Linked DNA regions of Homo sapiens: regions 1 and 3 are each linked to region 2. Evidence: promoter capture Hi-C in 16 types of primary human blood cells and fetal thymus (Javierre and others, 2016). All regions are on one chromosome and are shown on one strand. The core of a region is centred on a gene start or on the middle of the fragment in contact, and the rest is flanking DNA. Distances in the headings are between cores, read along the strand shown.

Region 1 (4,397 bases), core at 604-3,103, 870 kb before region 2:
TTTTTAGAGCCAAGGTTTCACCATGTTGGCCCACCTCAGCCTCCCAAGGTGCTGGGATTACAGGCGTGAGCCACCGCGCCCGGCCCATTTATGTGTAATCTTAATTCAACACTTATTGAGCGCCTACTGTATGTTTGGCATAAAATGGTGGTCCCTAATTTCAAAAGATTTGGAGTCTAGAGGGCAGAAATTGAAGAGGTTGGTGCTCTGCACGTCTGAGTCCGCCCACAGACTGAATAAATAAGCTCTGCGTCGGCGCCCCTCACCTTTCTTTCATGGCCAGACTTTTCTCTGGCGGTTCCACAGCTGTCCTGACAGTGGAATTCAGACGGGGTGACCAAGCCCCTAGCCCACCTACCAGCGAAATCCAGCATCAGTTCCAGGGCAGCCGGACCCGCGCCCGGGGACGACTGACCCTTAGCCCAAGGCTGCGGGGGCGTCGGAGTCCTGAAGCGCAGGCGAGGCAGGGCCAGCGGGACAGGGAGACTCAAGGCCCCAGGGGATCTGGGCGTTTGAAGACTCAGGTCAGACTCTGAGGCGCCCGTCTAAAGAGACCGGTTGTCTTTTCCCTAATTCAGGAGGCCAGGCTGTCCCTTGGGGCGTCGTACCGAGGGCAGATCACAGCCCTTCCCTCCTCACCACACTCCCTGTGCTTCCACCCAGCTGGTTCCCCGCCCTGTCCATCGCTGTCCTCAATCGCTTGTTGTCGTGGGCCCCCCTCTCCGGCCCACGTGGGGCCGCAGGGATCCACAGCTCATCTGACACACCTCGCTGCCCTGCACGCACCGGGACCCCTCCATTCCGCCGGCCCCTCAGACACGCAGTAACACCCCAACATCTGCTGGGAAAAAAATCTTCCCCACGGCGGAGGAGTTCTCAGTCCCACGCGCCCAGAGTCGCACCCACTCGAGCCACCCGCCTGTTGCCGTCGCCACGCCCTCCAGCCGCAGCCCCAGCGCGCATTCCTACGGGTCGCCGGGTCTGTCGCCAGCGATCGAATGAAGTCGGCTGATCCCCCACGTGTGGCTGCTCCAGTGACACCCAGGGGAGGCCTCGGTCCTTACCCCTAGAGCAACCAATGGCTGCCTTAATTCTTCAGCGGGGGCGTTCTTTTTCTTCCTCCCAAGCAGGCGGCCGTTGGGTCGGCCGAAGGCAGCAGCGACTACTACGGCTCTTCCTCTCCAATGGGATCCCCTGTCTGCCCGCGCGCCACAGTGACAGCTTCCAGATGCCTGTCTTTAGTCTCCCTTCTCAAGGGAAGCGGTGGGCGACCGAGGTGCGGCCTGGAGGGCCCCCATGTGGGAAGGGAAGACTTGCGGAAGGGCAATTCTTCCAGTGCGGAGACGAGGAGGCCAGCCCAGCCGCACTTCGGTCGCCCACCGCTCCGCCTGGTGGTCCGCAGCCCCTTCCAGGCCGGCTTCTCCGGGTGGGGCGTGCTAGTCCGGGGCTAACTTTCCGCCACGTGCTGTCCCTGCGACCCGTCTCCCCCGGTCGCCCTTCCTTCTCCCGGCGGCCGCTGGAGCTGCCCGCTTCGTGGAGCCGGTGGCAGGCCCCGGGGCTGGGAGCTCGCGCCCAGGCTTTTACTCAGATTCCAGCACCTGATGGAGCAGGGGGTGGCGGCCAGCGCACAGGCTGTCGGCATCTCATGGCAGCGGAGACGGTCGTTTGGGGACGGAGGGGCGAGCCCCGCGGCCGGGGCCAGTGGAGCTGGGCTCGGAGCCCGCCCACCATCCTCCCGCCCACCACCGCGGCCGGGCGCGCAGGCTCACACCCCTTCCTGGGGAAGCGAATGGTCCCTTCCAGGCGGGTGGCCATGTTGCTCTAATAAAGCGGGAGGGGCGGCGGCGTGGGGGGAGCAGATGCCGCTGGCTGCCAGCGGGACGCCGGCGAGCAGAGCGCAGCCGCGAGGGAGGCGCGAGGGAGGCGAGCCGGAGCCCGAGCACTAGCAGCAGCCGGAGTCGGCGTAAAGCACCCGGGCGCAGCCGGAGCCGGTGCCGCAGCTGCGATGGCCGTGGCCGTGGGGAGACCGTCTGTGAGTGCTGGGGCCTCGCCTGCTGCTCCTCGGGCGCCGGGTGGTCTCTGCTCTGGGGCGGGTGCGGTGAGGACCACAGGGGAGCCGGGCGGGTGCTCGGCCCCGCGGCGGCGGCGACGGCTGTGGGTGTGTGCACGAATTTGGGCGCGCGTCTGGGGTCGGGGTTAGGAGCCCAGGGGCTCAGTTACGTGATGCAACAGTGGATCGCCTCGTCGCGCCCCTCTTCTGGGAATGCGAAAGAAAAAGGACCCCTCTCCTGTTCCCTTTAAAATAATTCTTTGAGGCGCGGCGTGTCTCAGCCGCCTCCCTCTGCCCGCGCACCTCTTCCCTCGTGACAGCCAGAAGGGCGCCGGGTTCGGGGCTTTCCTCCAGTCTCCCCCGCGCCGAGGGGGCGCTCAGGGCATGGGAATTGCGAGCTGAAGTGCTGCGTGTGGCACTGCTGTAGAAGCAGGTCAGAGGGGTGGGATTTCCGTGGTGGCCTCCCCAGCGCATTGTGAGATCCCGGACACCCTCGGGCATCCACCCGGCTGAGCGGGCCCTGCCCAGGATGTGGACAAAGCCCCAGATAACACACACAAAGTTTTCTGGAGGCTCCCTTGTGGTGTGGGTGGAAGGACTGAAATGTTCTGCGGCTGAAAGGCCGGGGGCGGCGGGCTGAGGAGGCTGGGACGCGAGGAAGAGGAAGGGCGGGCGGGTGCGTGAAGAATCGAGTGCCCCACGGCGGGAGGGAGGAGAGTAGGAGGGAGGAGATACCTTTGCCCCGAGTGTGTGGGCCAAGGCGCCGCGCCTACTGGGTTGCAAGACTCGGTCCGCGCCCCGGGGCCGGGCCGGAGGGGAGCGGGACTCCGAGGGTGCGGTTCAGTGGCCGCTCCGCATCCCCAAGTGAAAGGCGGAGGAAGGGGCGGCGGCGGCCTTTCCTTTTTTTTGAAAGGAGCGGAGCTGGGTGGGAAAGGCGGAGTCCTCCTGTTTTCCCTTTCCCCTTTTCATCGTCGATGTTCACAGTCCACTCGCCTTACTGGCTTTGGGGGCGCCTCGGGCGATGTCTTTCCCTGTCTATCACCTCCTCTTCCCTTTTTCTTCTTCCCTTTCCCACAGCTGTGCAGCTGCAGGTGGTGGCTCGGGAGATTTTGTAGTTACAGACGAAAGACTTACTGAGATACTGGAAGCTCGGAAATCCCAGAAATGCAAGGCTGTGCTCTCAGGCTCCCGGCTCTTCCCCCTCTCCCCGCCTAACTCCTCCCCAGATACGCGCGCCTTTTGCACCCTACCCCCTCGGGAGAAGTTCATGGGTCCCTTTGCGGATTCTAATTCGATTTGGTGGTTCGGCTGCCCGCGGTGCTTTCAAAGACGTTTTCTGCAGTCAGAAAACACAGCGGTCATATCGAATCATGACTGTCTTTTAGGCCTTTTCAACTCTACGATTTAATGACATGGCTCTTTTAAGAATTCTGGTCTTCTTTTGCACATAAATTGTGCTCTTGATAATTAGTGGTCACATGTAGGTTATTGTTACTGAGGGAATTTGCATAGTCTCTGGGCTAGTCGTTTTATTTTTGGTGAGAAAATTGAGGTCTATAGAGGTGAAATTTATCTGGTTAAATTACTCCTCCCCCTGCCCCCCATTATACTTATTAGCAGGCATAGATTCAGAGAACTAAAATAACAATATCTGCTTTAGATAAATTGGCAAACGTTTAGGATTGCAAATATTCAGTGGGGGTGTTTGGCTTTTTCAGTAACACGTATTATTGCTGGTGCATTCTTGAGGGATGGAGGAGGTGGAAGAAATAATTAGCTGCACATTTTCTATAAATTAGTTCATATATGTCAGTTAAATAGGAACAGTATGTGGATTTAAGGTTTAGTTGTGTGGCCGTAATCACATCCAACACCAAGTCGGCCAACCATATGTGAGCTTAATCCCACAGAATTCTTATGTTAGACCTCCCTCTTCAGATAATAGAGGAGATTTTTTTTAAGTATACGTGCACAGAGGAAGTGACTTCTTTCTGCGCACTCTGTTGTCACTGGAATTAAAATTAAATTACAATCTAAAGACAGAAGACTTTTCTTTTGGAAACCTAATGTACGAGTGATTAGGAATTGACTATAAAGTTAGAAAGTCTACAGAAAATATGTGATCACATTTCACAGATAATTGTTGAATCCTTTCACTTTGTTCATTGGGCTATTGTCTTAAGTGTGGTCTCTGCAGTTATGGCTTTAAAACAAAGTCAATGAATGGGGAAGACTCTTGAGACACAGCTCCATGGAATCTACACTGCACCTTTAAAGTTAAGAGTTCTCTGGCCCTCCCATTTCTTATCTAGTCTGTGATTTCACCAAAAGAAAGGAAGGGTGCGCT
Region 2 (4,580 bases), core at 190-2,689:
AGCAAATAATTATCCAAATGCCATTTGTATTTGGTTCTGAAATGTACTGTAGACCTATTGGCAGCAGGTTTATCTTTACAACTGGGTTTTGCTTAGGCTATTCTCAAAATAGCTTTCCAGCAGCACATACTGAGTAGACAACAGAGGTTGCTTGATCTAGTTTTTGGAGACTGAGGAAAACATGTTTGTTGAGCCTATCTTGATTGACAAGATAACTAGAGGCAATACGGTAAAATGTAACACTGTGCTTCCAATGTGTACAAACGGCTCAGCTAAACTCCCTGAACACAATCCACCTAAACAGTCTAAGCTCAATAGCCGACCGAGTTAAGCAGGATGACAGCTCCAGTAACTTCCTCTTCCTCACCCAGCTCCTCAGCTCGGCGGCGCGTACACGCCTCTCCCCCTAGGAGGCAGGATAAAACAATTTCAAATGCACAAAATCCATCCAATCCCACAGGCCAGGAAAGCCAGTTTCCCTTTCTTCCTCAGCCCTTCCAAGAAAATGTTTGTCTAATTAAAAAAAAAAAAATCTTACCAACGGCAAAGTATTTGCAACAAAAATCCAAAATATTTACTCAGTCCCTCCACACAGCCTTAGGGGAAGGATGAAAAGAAGGGAACACGACACCGCGTATTCCCAAGACTGACTGTTCTGATTCACTTTCCTCCCTCGGGTCCCACAGCCGGCCGGGCGAAGGCTTGCAGTTGGAACGCCAAAATAAGCCTTCGCCTCTCAGGAGACGCGGAGGCGGCCACGGCGACGGCAATCGGCGAGTCCCGCCTCCGACCCTCACCTGCCCAGGCCCGAGGCAGCGCCGTGGGCTCGCGCGGGCTCGCCGTCCCGGGAGGCGTCCGGGGAGGTGGGCGGGCGCCCAGGCAGTTAGGCCGCGCTGCAGGCCGGCGCGCTTCCTGCCGCGGCCGGGGAACGGCGGCCCCGGGATCAGCGGCGCGGCACCGACCAGCAGCTCTCCCAGCCCCGCTGCCGCGCGTGTGCCGCACTCACTCAGCCCTCCCCGGCCGGCCCCCTAGGAGCAGCTCTCACCTGCGAGGCTCGGGAGCCGCAGCCACAAAGCGGGAGGGACACGCCACTCTGGGGTCCCGGCCCCGGGCCACCCCCGACACACACACACACACACACACACACCCCGGAACCTTCGCCCGCCTCTGAAGAGACGCGGGTCAGCCCCGCCGCCCCCTCCAGTCACCCGACACACACCCACTCGCCGTGGGTCCTCGGGCCGCCTCCCCGCCCGCCAAAGTCCCAACTCGCACACCCACACGCACATTTGTCCCTCTCCCACCTCATTTCCCCGGGGACGCGCTCCTCTTCCCAACACTCTCGGTCCTACTCGGAGGCAAAAGAACACTCTACCTCATTCTCTTCCTCTGGCCCAGAAGCAACAGCAGCCATTTCCCCGCGGCAGGGGAAACACACACACAAACACGCGCGCGCGCGCGCACCAGGCCCCCACAGATGCTTCCCCTCCAGAGCCGCGGCCGCAGACGCAGACGCAAACACAAACACCCACGGCGGGCCTCGCTCCCGCCCGCCCCGAGGGGAAGCCGCGGCGGCACACAGGGCCCGTAACCGGGGCTCGCGGGCGGGCGCGCAGGGAACCCGGGCCCGGGGTCTCGGGGGGCCCGCGCCCCCTCCTCACCTGCATTCAGCGCGCCGGGGTCCGGGCGGCGGCGGCGGCGGCGGCGACGGGGCGGCTGGTGCTGGTGCTGCGGCGGCGGGGGAGGCGGCGGCGGCGGTGGCGGCGGGGCTGAGGGCAGCAAAGACATGCAGGCAGCCCGCCGGAGGGGAGAGGCACCGGCCGGAGGGGATGCGGGGCGGGCGGGCCGGGCCGGGCCGCCTGACGAACGGCAGAGGCGGCGGCGCGGAAGGCGGCTGAAGGGAGCGAGGAGACAGACCGGGGGTCGGGAAGGGGGACGAGGGCCGCGCCGCCGGGCTTCGAGGACAGTGACCCCAGGCGCGCAAGAGAGGCCCCGCGGCCGCGGCCGCCGGCGCGAAGGCCCCAGCCGAAGGAAGCTGCGCCCCCGCAGGGCCGGAGCCGCGGCTACTGCTCCGAGAGCCACGCAGAGCCTGGCCTTGGCCTTGGCCTCCTGGTGCTGGGGCTGCCGCCGCTGCGGGGGTTGCCGCTGCGCCGGGTGCTGCTGGGGCCGAGGTTGAACAGAGACGCCAGCTTTCGGTGCCTTCGCTCCCGCTCACACACGTTCACACCCCCGAGGGCCGGGGGAGAGGCGTCCGGGCGATATCGGTATTGAGATTAATAACAAGGTGCAGAGAGTGCGAGAACGAGGAGGGTTGATTGACGTGGAGGGGCTGGCGGGAGTCAGTCACTCCCCGGCGCGGAGGGTTGGGGTGAGGGGAAGGAGGCGGGGCGGTGACGGGGCGGAGCTCCTACGCAGCGCCTTGGCCCCGCCCCCCGTGCGCCGCGTTTTGTCGCGGTGAGCGCGCGGAGGCCCGGGCTTCTTAATGGTTTTCTGTTTTGCTCTGGCTGTTTTCTCACTCTTTTTTCCTGGCCTGAGCGAGGAGCGGGGCTGAGAAGAGTGGTAGAGTTTCAGAAACCCACATCCACAGAGCCTTGGCGAAGAGACGGGAAACCGCCTCACCCCGGGTTCTTGTGTGGGCGCTGTTTACTGCACCCTCCTCGCCCGAGGCGACCTGACAGCGAAGCAGAGCGTAGGTCTAGGTGGCTGAGACGCCAGGGGAGGTGAAGTGACCGAAGGAAATGTTTCCTGACATATTCGGTGGATTTTTTTTAAAAACATATAGCATCTGTAAGTTGTATCGTCAAAGGTAAATAAAAGAACCTGTGACGCTCAGCGATAACCCGGTCCTATTTTCTAATTCTCCCTTCTCGTTGTAGACTTTAGTTTGTTGTTTGTAGCTTATCCATGCCATCTACAGAATGAAAACATCCAAATGCAAACTAGAAATAGTAGTGTTTACTTGGTGAACCTGGCTGTGATACTTTAAGTTTCTGGGGTTTGTTTTTGTTTTTGTGGGCCAGCTTCAGCTTTTTTGGGCCAGCAGTCCAAAAAGCAAATTACACCGGCTGTGGAGGCAGAGTACTGCTGTTGCAGTTTTGCACAATTTTAATCTCTTTCTCAATGCATGCCCGGGCTCGTGTATTTACCAGTGTTGGTCAAGGGTATATTAGCAATGTTCAGTATTTTTTCCCCCACAGGAGTGTTTAGCACACTAAGCACGTTGCGTTGGTTGCAATTCATCTTAGGCCTTATTACTGAATGTAAAATGCCTTCATCTCTTGGGGGAAAAGGTGCGGTGAAAATGCAAATCATCATTTAGCTAAAACTGAACAGCTGTTACAAGAGTCCATAATTGCAGAACTATTGCACCACTTTCATCTTGGCACCAGGATGGGTGAATGAGTGAGTAAAAAAGCCCCTCAGTTCACAAGACGACAGACTATTTTCTTTTCTACCTATGTTAATTTTCCATTTCCCTCCCTAGCAACACCAGCCCCACACCATCTTCTGTGAAACATGTCAAAATGGCCTTAAGCCTGGAAGAAGTCTCACTCTTTCCCAACTATCTAAGAGTCTAGGCTGACATAAAATGAATAATTATCTTTGGCTTTGTAAGCAGCAAAGCCAAGCAAGTCACTTCAGGAGTCCAAATAGTGGACCTGCCTCAATGGCATCTTGCCACAGTATTTCTCCGTAGCACACAAACACTCTCCCAGGGAGAAATACCACCAATTATAGAAGGAAAGAGGAAAATAAATACCTGAAAAAATGTAAATCAGATAATGTGATAGCCTCACAGATTTAAGCATCTTTAAATAACAATAAATTTATATGAATTTTCTGTGAGTATTCAATGAATTTTCATTCATATACAATAAACACATATGGAGGGCATATTATGTTCCAGATGCTATGTTTAGCATTGGAGACACACAGCCAAGCATATATAGTCCCTTTTCTTAAGTAACTCACTATCATTGTAGGGGAAGCTGACACATAAACAGGAAATTCTCACAGAACAAACCAGAAATGAAAGTATGAGAGGTGACACAAAATTAATAGTCACAACAATGTCTAGGAGGATGGGCTGACAGCACTGGCATTTACACGTGAGCCATTTGACATCTGCCCACTCTCACAGGCTGCCTAGCAGTAGTGACAGGTGGGGAAAAATGACAGGGCCATTGTGGATGTTAAAGAAGCACTAATAAATGGTGGACTTTGGTGGTCCTGAAGGTCAACTTTATATATGGGATGTTCTTTGTTGGCCTCTAAATTTTAAGTAGTAAATGCATCACAATCCATGGTGGGGAGGGGTAATTGTAACTTTCAGAGTTAATAGTGGACAGTGGATGTTGTCATAGGATCATTTATTTTAATGCAGGTTAAGTTTAGAATTTACTCTCAAAGATGTCCTCTTTATACCATATCAAATTGATTGACTCACTAAAAACAAAAGGAAAGCAATACTTTTATATGTTAACTATATTATCCAAAAAATAGATTGCTGTTTTTCTCATTTGCAATTAGAATGACATTGGAGAAATAATAGTTTTCAGATAGTTGGCACTATACAAATG
Region 3 (4,687 bases), core at 2,016-4,515, 800 kb after region 2:
ATTAAGTATGCAGGGCAGGATTCACCAGGAATGTCACCTCTGAGCTAGGTATTAAAGGAATTGATTGGTAGGGCTTTGAAGATATAAAGATTAGTAGAGATAAGAACAAGATCCCCGTATTTGATAATATTGGAAAATAATGTATCAAATAGTACATGAGTTAAGTGAGCTGTTAATCCTTTTCTGTTTCTTTCTTTTTTTAAAAAATAGCAACAAGGTCTCACTGTGTTGCCCAGGCTGGTCTCGAACTCCTCGGCCTCCCCAAGTGCTAAGATTACAAGTGTGAGCCACCACACCCAGCCGAGTGGGCTACTAATCCTCAGTGAAGAGGCCATCACTGGGCACTGAATATCAGAGTCCATCCTTATTTTTTGTGTGTGTTCCTCTTGTTTCTGAAGTATCTAATGGAAAGTCTGGCTTCTCTGTTTCTCTCTTTCTCTGATTTCAGAAATCTTATTACGGTATCCTATCTATTGAAGATAACTAGAGATCAGTTTAAGTCTTCTCCATGCTGGAGCTTACAGAATAGATGCTAATTCTATTGCCTGCTTTCCCAGATACTGACAGGTAATAAGAGGGCCAAGTAGACCACCCTGCCATGGATTGGAGCCATGTAAGACCCATCCTGTGTACACTCAGAGCTGACTCTTTCCTAGGAAGTGAGTGGTATGGATAGACATGCGTCTTTTCCAATTCTTCCTGTGCCTCACCTCAGTCTTCAGGACTCCAAGGAGGTAGGACCAAAAAGCACAGGGCCCCTGAGTGTTATTTCAGATCCTCTGTGTAACCAGCCCACACCTGAGCCTTCTGTCAATGGAAAACTCCATTAGGCAGCAATGACTGGAGAATGTCTCCAATTTATTCAAACATGTTTCTAGAGAGAAGACGGTGGTGGGGAGAAAAGCACTTCCTTCCTCTCTCTACCTCCTGTCTCTTCCTAACCTCCTCTGCTTTAATTTCTGGCTAACCTCAGCACTGTTGACATGAAAAAGAAGCCTTTGCACTGTTAAGTCTACTTTGAATTATTTCAATATGGGGACCTTCCCTGGCCACCAGGCAACAAACTGTCCATTCTTGATTTTCTCCTCTCTCTCTCTTCTGGGTATTGAATATGTAGTTTGGCTGGACCAGGTGCTGCCAAAAACTTCTTGGGAGGCCCACGGCTTCCCAGAATCTAGAATCCACCCAGAGAAAGTCCCTGTGAGGAAACTTCACAGATCTTTCTCTGGTTACGTCTCTGGGAACACTGCACTTGCCCGGCTTTTCCTGCACTGCTTTTCTTGGCTTCCTCAGTGTGATGGTCCTGTCTTCTTTCTTCAGGAAAAACAGGCCCCCTGGCCTTCCCTTTCCTAGATGTGAAGGAAAGATGCCAGAGCCATACAATGTTGGTTTCAGTACCACCAACTTGCCGTGTAACTTTCGGCAAATTACTTAGCCTCGCTGATCCATCATTTCCTTTTGTTTCTAAGATAGGAGTAATAATTTATCAATTCATAGTGCCAGGAAGACCCAGGTGCCAGGAAGGATGGAATGCTTAGATCTGTCATGGAAGATACAAGGAATTAGATGAGGAAACACAAGTAAAGGAATTAGCACAATATCTGAAATATGTAGTCATTGGCTATTATTTACATCTTTCCCCAATTTCCCAGTCTCTTTTGCTGTTATCAAGTATATGCATAAGGTCTTTTTTATTTTGAAAGACTTAGTCATTATGGGAAAATTGACAAAGGACTGCAAATTCTGTATAATCATGTGGAACTTTCACAACTTAACCAACTGCACCACATTCTTGACCTCTCTGTGCAGGCAGAGAGAATTCAGCTCCCTTTGGACTGTGGCTTTATAACCTCACATGCTCTTCTCAGCCAACCGACCTGAAGAGCCAGTAGGCATTGACTTGCATTCTTTCAGAGGTCCTCTTGTTTCAATAATAATAAGCACCATTTCTTAACACTCACTATGAGCAATTCATATATTTTGTCTCATTTTGACTTTATAACAACACCATGAGGCAGGTAACCTTATCTCAATTTACTAGTCTGGAAAGAGGCTCAGAAACGTTAAGACCACTCTAGATATAGTTCTGGAGCCACAAAACAAACTGAGATTTCTATACAGTAGATCCAAAATCTATACGCTTGACTCTCTCACGCTGGGACCATGATACAGCAGTAGCAACAGTTACAAAGCTCTTTACTTTAGAGGCCCGTTTCTTGGGCTCTGGGGTTGGGAGGTAGGTCTGAACACTTGGGTGTCTCATAAATTCTCTGACTTCACACACTGAGCAACTTCACCACACATCACTGGCATCTAACGGTCAGTAATACTGAAGTCTAAATAAGTCTCTCAGAAGCTTACATATCAATAATATAAAGTCATCTAGTACAGGACAGAAGCCACCTTGATAGAGCCAAGTCAGTATCTTTCAATCTGACAAGACTGGTCAGGAGGCTCTCAGACCAGAAGGTAATATCTTCACTTGCTGAGCACTGTACTATCCGAAGTTCAAAACTATAGACTGTGCCACAGCGGGGCACATGTGCAAGGGCAGAGTTGGAGCCCTGAATAAACAGTTCACCATTACTTACAGAATTTCCCTGGTTCCATGTTTCCCCCTTTCTTTTTTGGGGGGAAGGATGTGAATTTTTCTTCTTTTTCTCCAGCAGTAGCAGTACTGAAACCATTCAGCAACGAGGATTTGGCAGCTTCTAAGGGTCATGTCGTTGGTGGGTGCAGTTTGAGTTGAAGTGATTGCAGACGTGCAGACAAACACACAGAAATAGAGGTTCAGTAGGGCCTGGGCCTAAGCCCTGGGGAAAGCTACAGTTACTTCAGTGGAAGGGGAGTAGGAGCCAACAGAGCAAATGGAAGGAAGAGCAGGAAGATGATGCCGCACTCCGGAGGAGAAGCAGCAGAGTTGCTCTCTGTACCTGCAAGCCAATGGAGAAGTTTATCATAAGACAGTAATGAACTAATAACACACCGCTGACCGGTGACACACAGCAATAGTGGCAACTGTTGAAGAACTACTGTGTGCTCAGCGTCACGCTACATGCTTTAGAGAAGCCCTTAGGGCACAGTGGAGTTAGAAGTACGTTATTTATTAGGAATGACTGTACATAGGATAAAAAAAAAAGAAATAGGTCATTTATCCTAACTCTTACAGCAACTAGCTTTGAGAAAGTGAGCAGCTTATTCAATCTCTCTGAGTATTAATTTCATCTGAGAAATTGGAGTAATAATATCCATATTACTCATTTAGCCTATCAATGTGAACTGAAAGCCTACTGTGTACTAAACACTACTCTAAAAGCTGCATATACATGTAAAAATTTACTACCTGTTCGGCTGGGCGCGGTGGCTCAAGCCTGTAATCTCAGCACTTTGGGAGGCCGAGGCGGATGAATCACTTGAAGTCAAGAGTTCGTGACCAGCCTGACCAACATGGTGAAACCCAGTCTCTACTAAAAATACAAAAATTAGCCGGGCATGGTGGCGCACACTAGTAATCCCAGCTACTCAAGAGGCTGAGGCAGGAGAATTGCTTGAACCTGGGAGGCAGAGGTTGCAGTGAGCCTAGATAATGCCACTGCACTCTAGCCTGGGTGACAGAGCGAGACTCCATCTCAAAAAAAAGAAAAAAAAATTCAGTGCCTGTTTTCATGGAACTTACAGTCTATAATAAAGATAAGAATGATCAATTATATTAAATGCCTGGGATTTGGCACTTATTTCATTTAATCCTCACAGCAATCCTATGTTTAGTGTGCTCTTTTCACGTCAACATTATCTGCTGTTGTTAAATGTTAAATGAAAATAAGTCAAGGCAGATCTGAGAAAACTATTGAGTACTAGGTTCGTCTTAACTGTGAAAGTGGCCATTGTTAGTTGATGGTTATGTATAATTAGTTAGTTTGAGAATGTGGGGTATATATTTCATATTCAAAAGCGAACTCCTGCCTCTGTCAGTCAATATTTGTGGTCCACCATCATTCTTAGCATCTAGTCCAACGCCTGGCACATATTAGATTATCAATACATAATTGTTAAATTAAATTGAGTACTTATTATATGCCAGACATCACTTATTCTGCAAATTGCATTTTATCTGATCTTTGTTCTTAGAAATTATATAAGGGCCTCTGGGAGAAACAGTAAGATTCTGGCCTACTAAGCTTTAGTGTGCTGTGTCAATAGTAATTGAATCAGGGAACAGGGTCAAAACCAGTCTTAGATGAAGAGTTTTTTCCCTTCTCTGACATAACCCCTCTATTTCTACTCTGAACCCATCTCTTATTACCCAGGACATTGCTAATAATGATGGGTGGTCCCAAGGTTCTGCCCTTGCATTTCTGCTCCACTAGAAAATACTTGGATTTTTGAGACTTTAAATAACAGTTCCAGAACTTACTAGCTTGGTAATTTTTGTGAAGTTGCTTACTCTTAATTTCTCAGTTTCTTCTTCTATAAAATTGAGATAATGCCAACTTCTATGGTCAAGAAGATTAAATTAAAATGATACATCCAAGAATACCTAAGACAATGAATAAAAGGATAGGAAGCTAGAAACAGGGATAGTTACATTTACAGTAAAGCTAGTTAGATAGGAAACATAGAAGGTTCTTGGTGCTCCATAGATGTCCCTGACACTCAGCATTTCCTACGTTCTGACTCTCCTTACTGC

The links. Contacts are between HindIII fragments. The CHiCAGO score rates a contact against its expected background, and 5 or more counts as called.
Region 1: a contact is called between the fragment with the promoter of SEPTIN11 here and the fragment with the promoter of CNOT6L in region 2, in 1 of 17 cell types (naive CD8 T cells). The highest score is 7.7, in naive CD8 T cells.
Region 3: a fragment that was not itself captured here is called in contact with the fragment with the promoter of CNOT6L in region 2 in 1 of 17 cell types (total B cells); the score reaches 5.1 in total B cells.

The regions. Positions count from the first base shown.
Region 1 is chr4:76,947,899-76,952,295 of GRCh38, forward strand. SEPTIN11 (septin 11) reads left to right here and starts at 1,854. Exons shown (of 10, transcript NM_018243.4): 1 at 1,854-2,032. The coding sequence starts at 2,006. It overlaps LOC105377294 (a long non-coding RNA gene), which reads right to left and starts at 1,667. Exons shown (of 3, transcript XR_001741739.2): 1 at 1,065-1,667. RefSeq lists an enhancer at 639-718 and silencers at 1,629-1,808, 1,839-2,148. The HindIII fragment of the contact is 7,046 bases long and covers 1-4,397 here.
Region 2 is chr4:77,817,929-77,822,508 of GRCh38, forward strand. CNOT6L (CCR4-NOT transcription complex subunit 6 like) reads right to left here and starts at 1,440. Exons shown (of 12, transcript NM_144571.3): 1 at 1,376-1,440. The coding sequence starts at 1,380. RefSeq lists silencers at 737-1,136, 1,217-1,286, 1,777-1,876, 1,917-2,076, 2,337-2,486 and an enhancer at 3,930-3,979. The HindIII fragment of the contact is 6,822 bases long and covers 1-4,580 here.
Region 3 is chr4:78,616,834-78,621,520 of GRCh38, forward strand. It overlaps LOC124900721 (a long non-coding RNA gene), which reads left to right. Exons shown (of 2, transcript XR_007058152.1): 1 at 1-734. Among named protein-coding and RNA genes, the nearest start is that of LINC01094, 27 kb to the right of the region's middle. The HindIII fragment of the contact is 1,822 bases long and covers 2,355-4,176 here.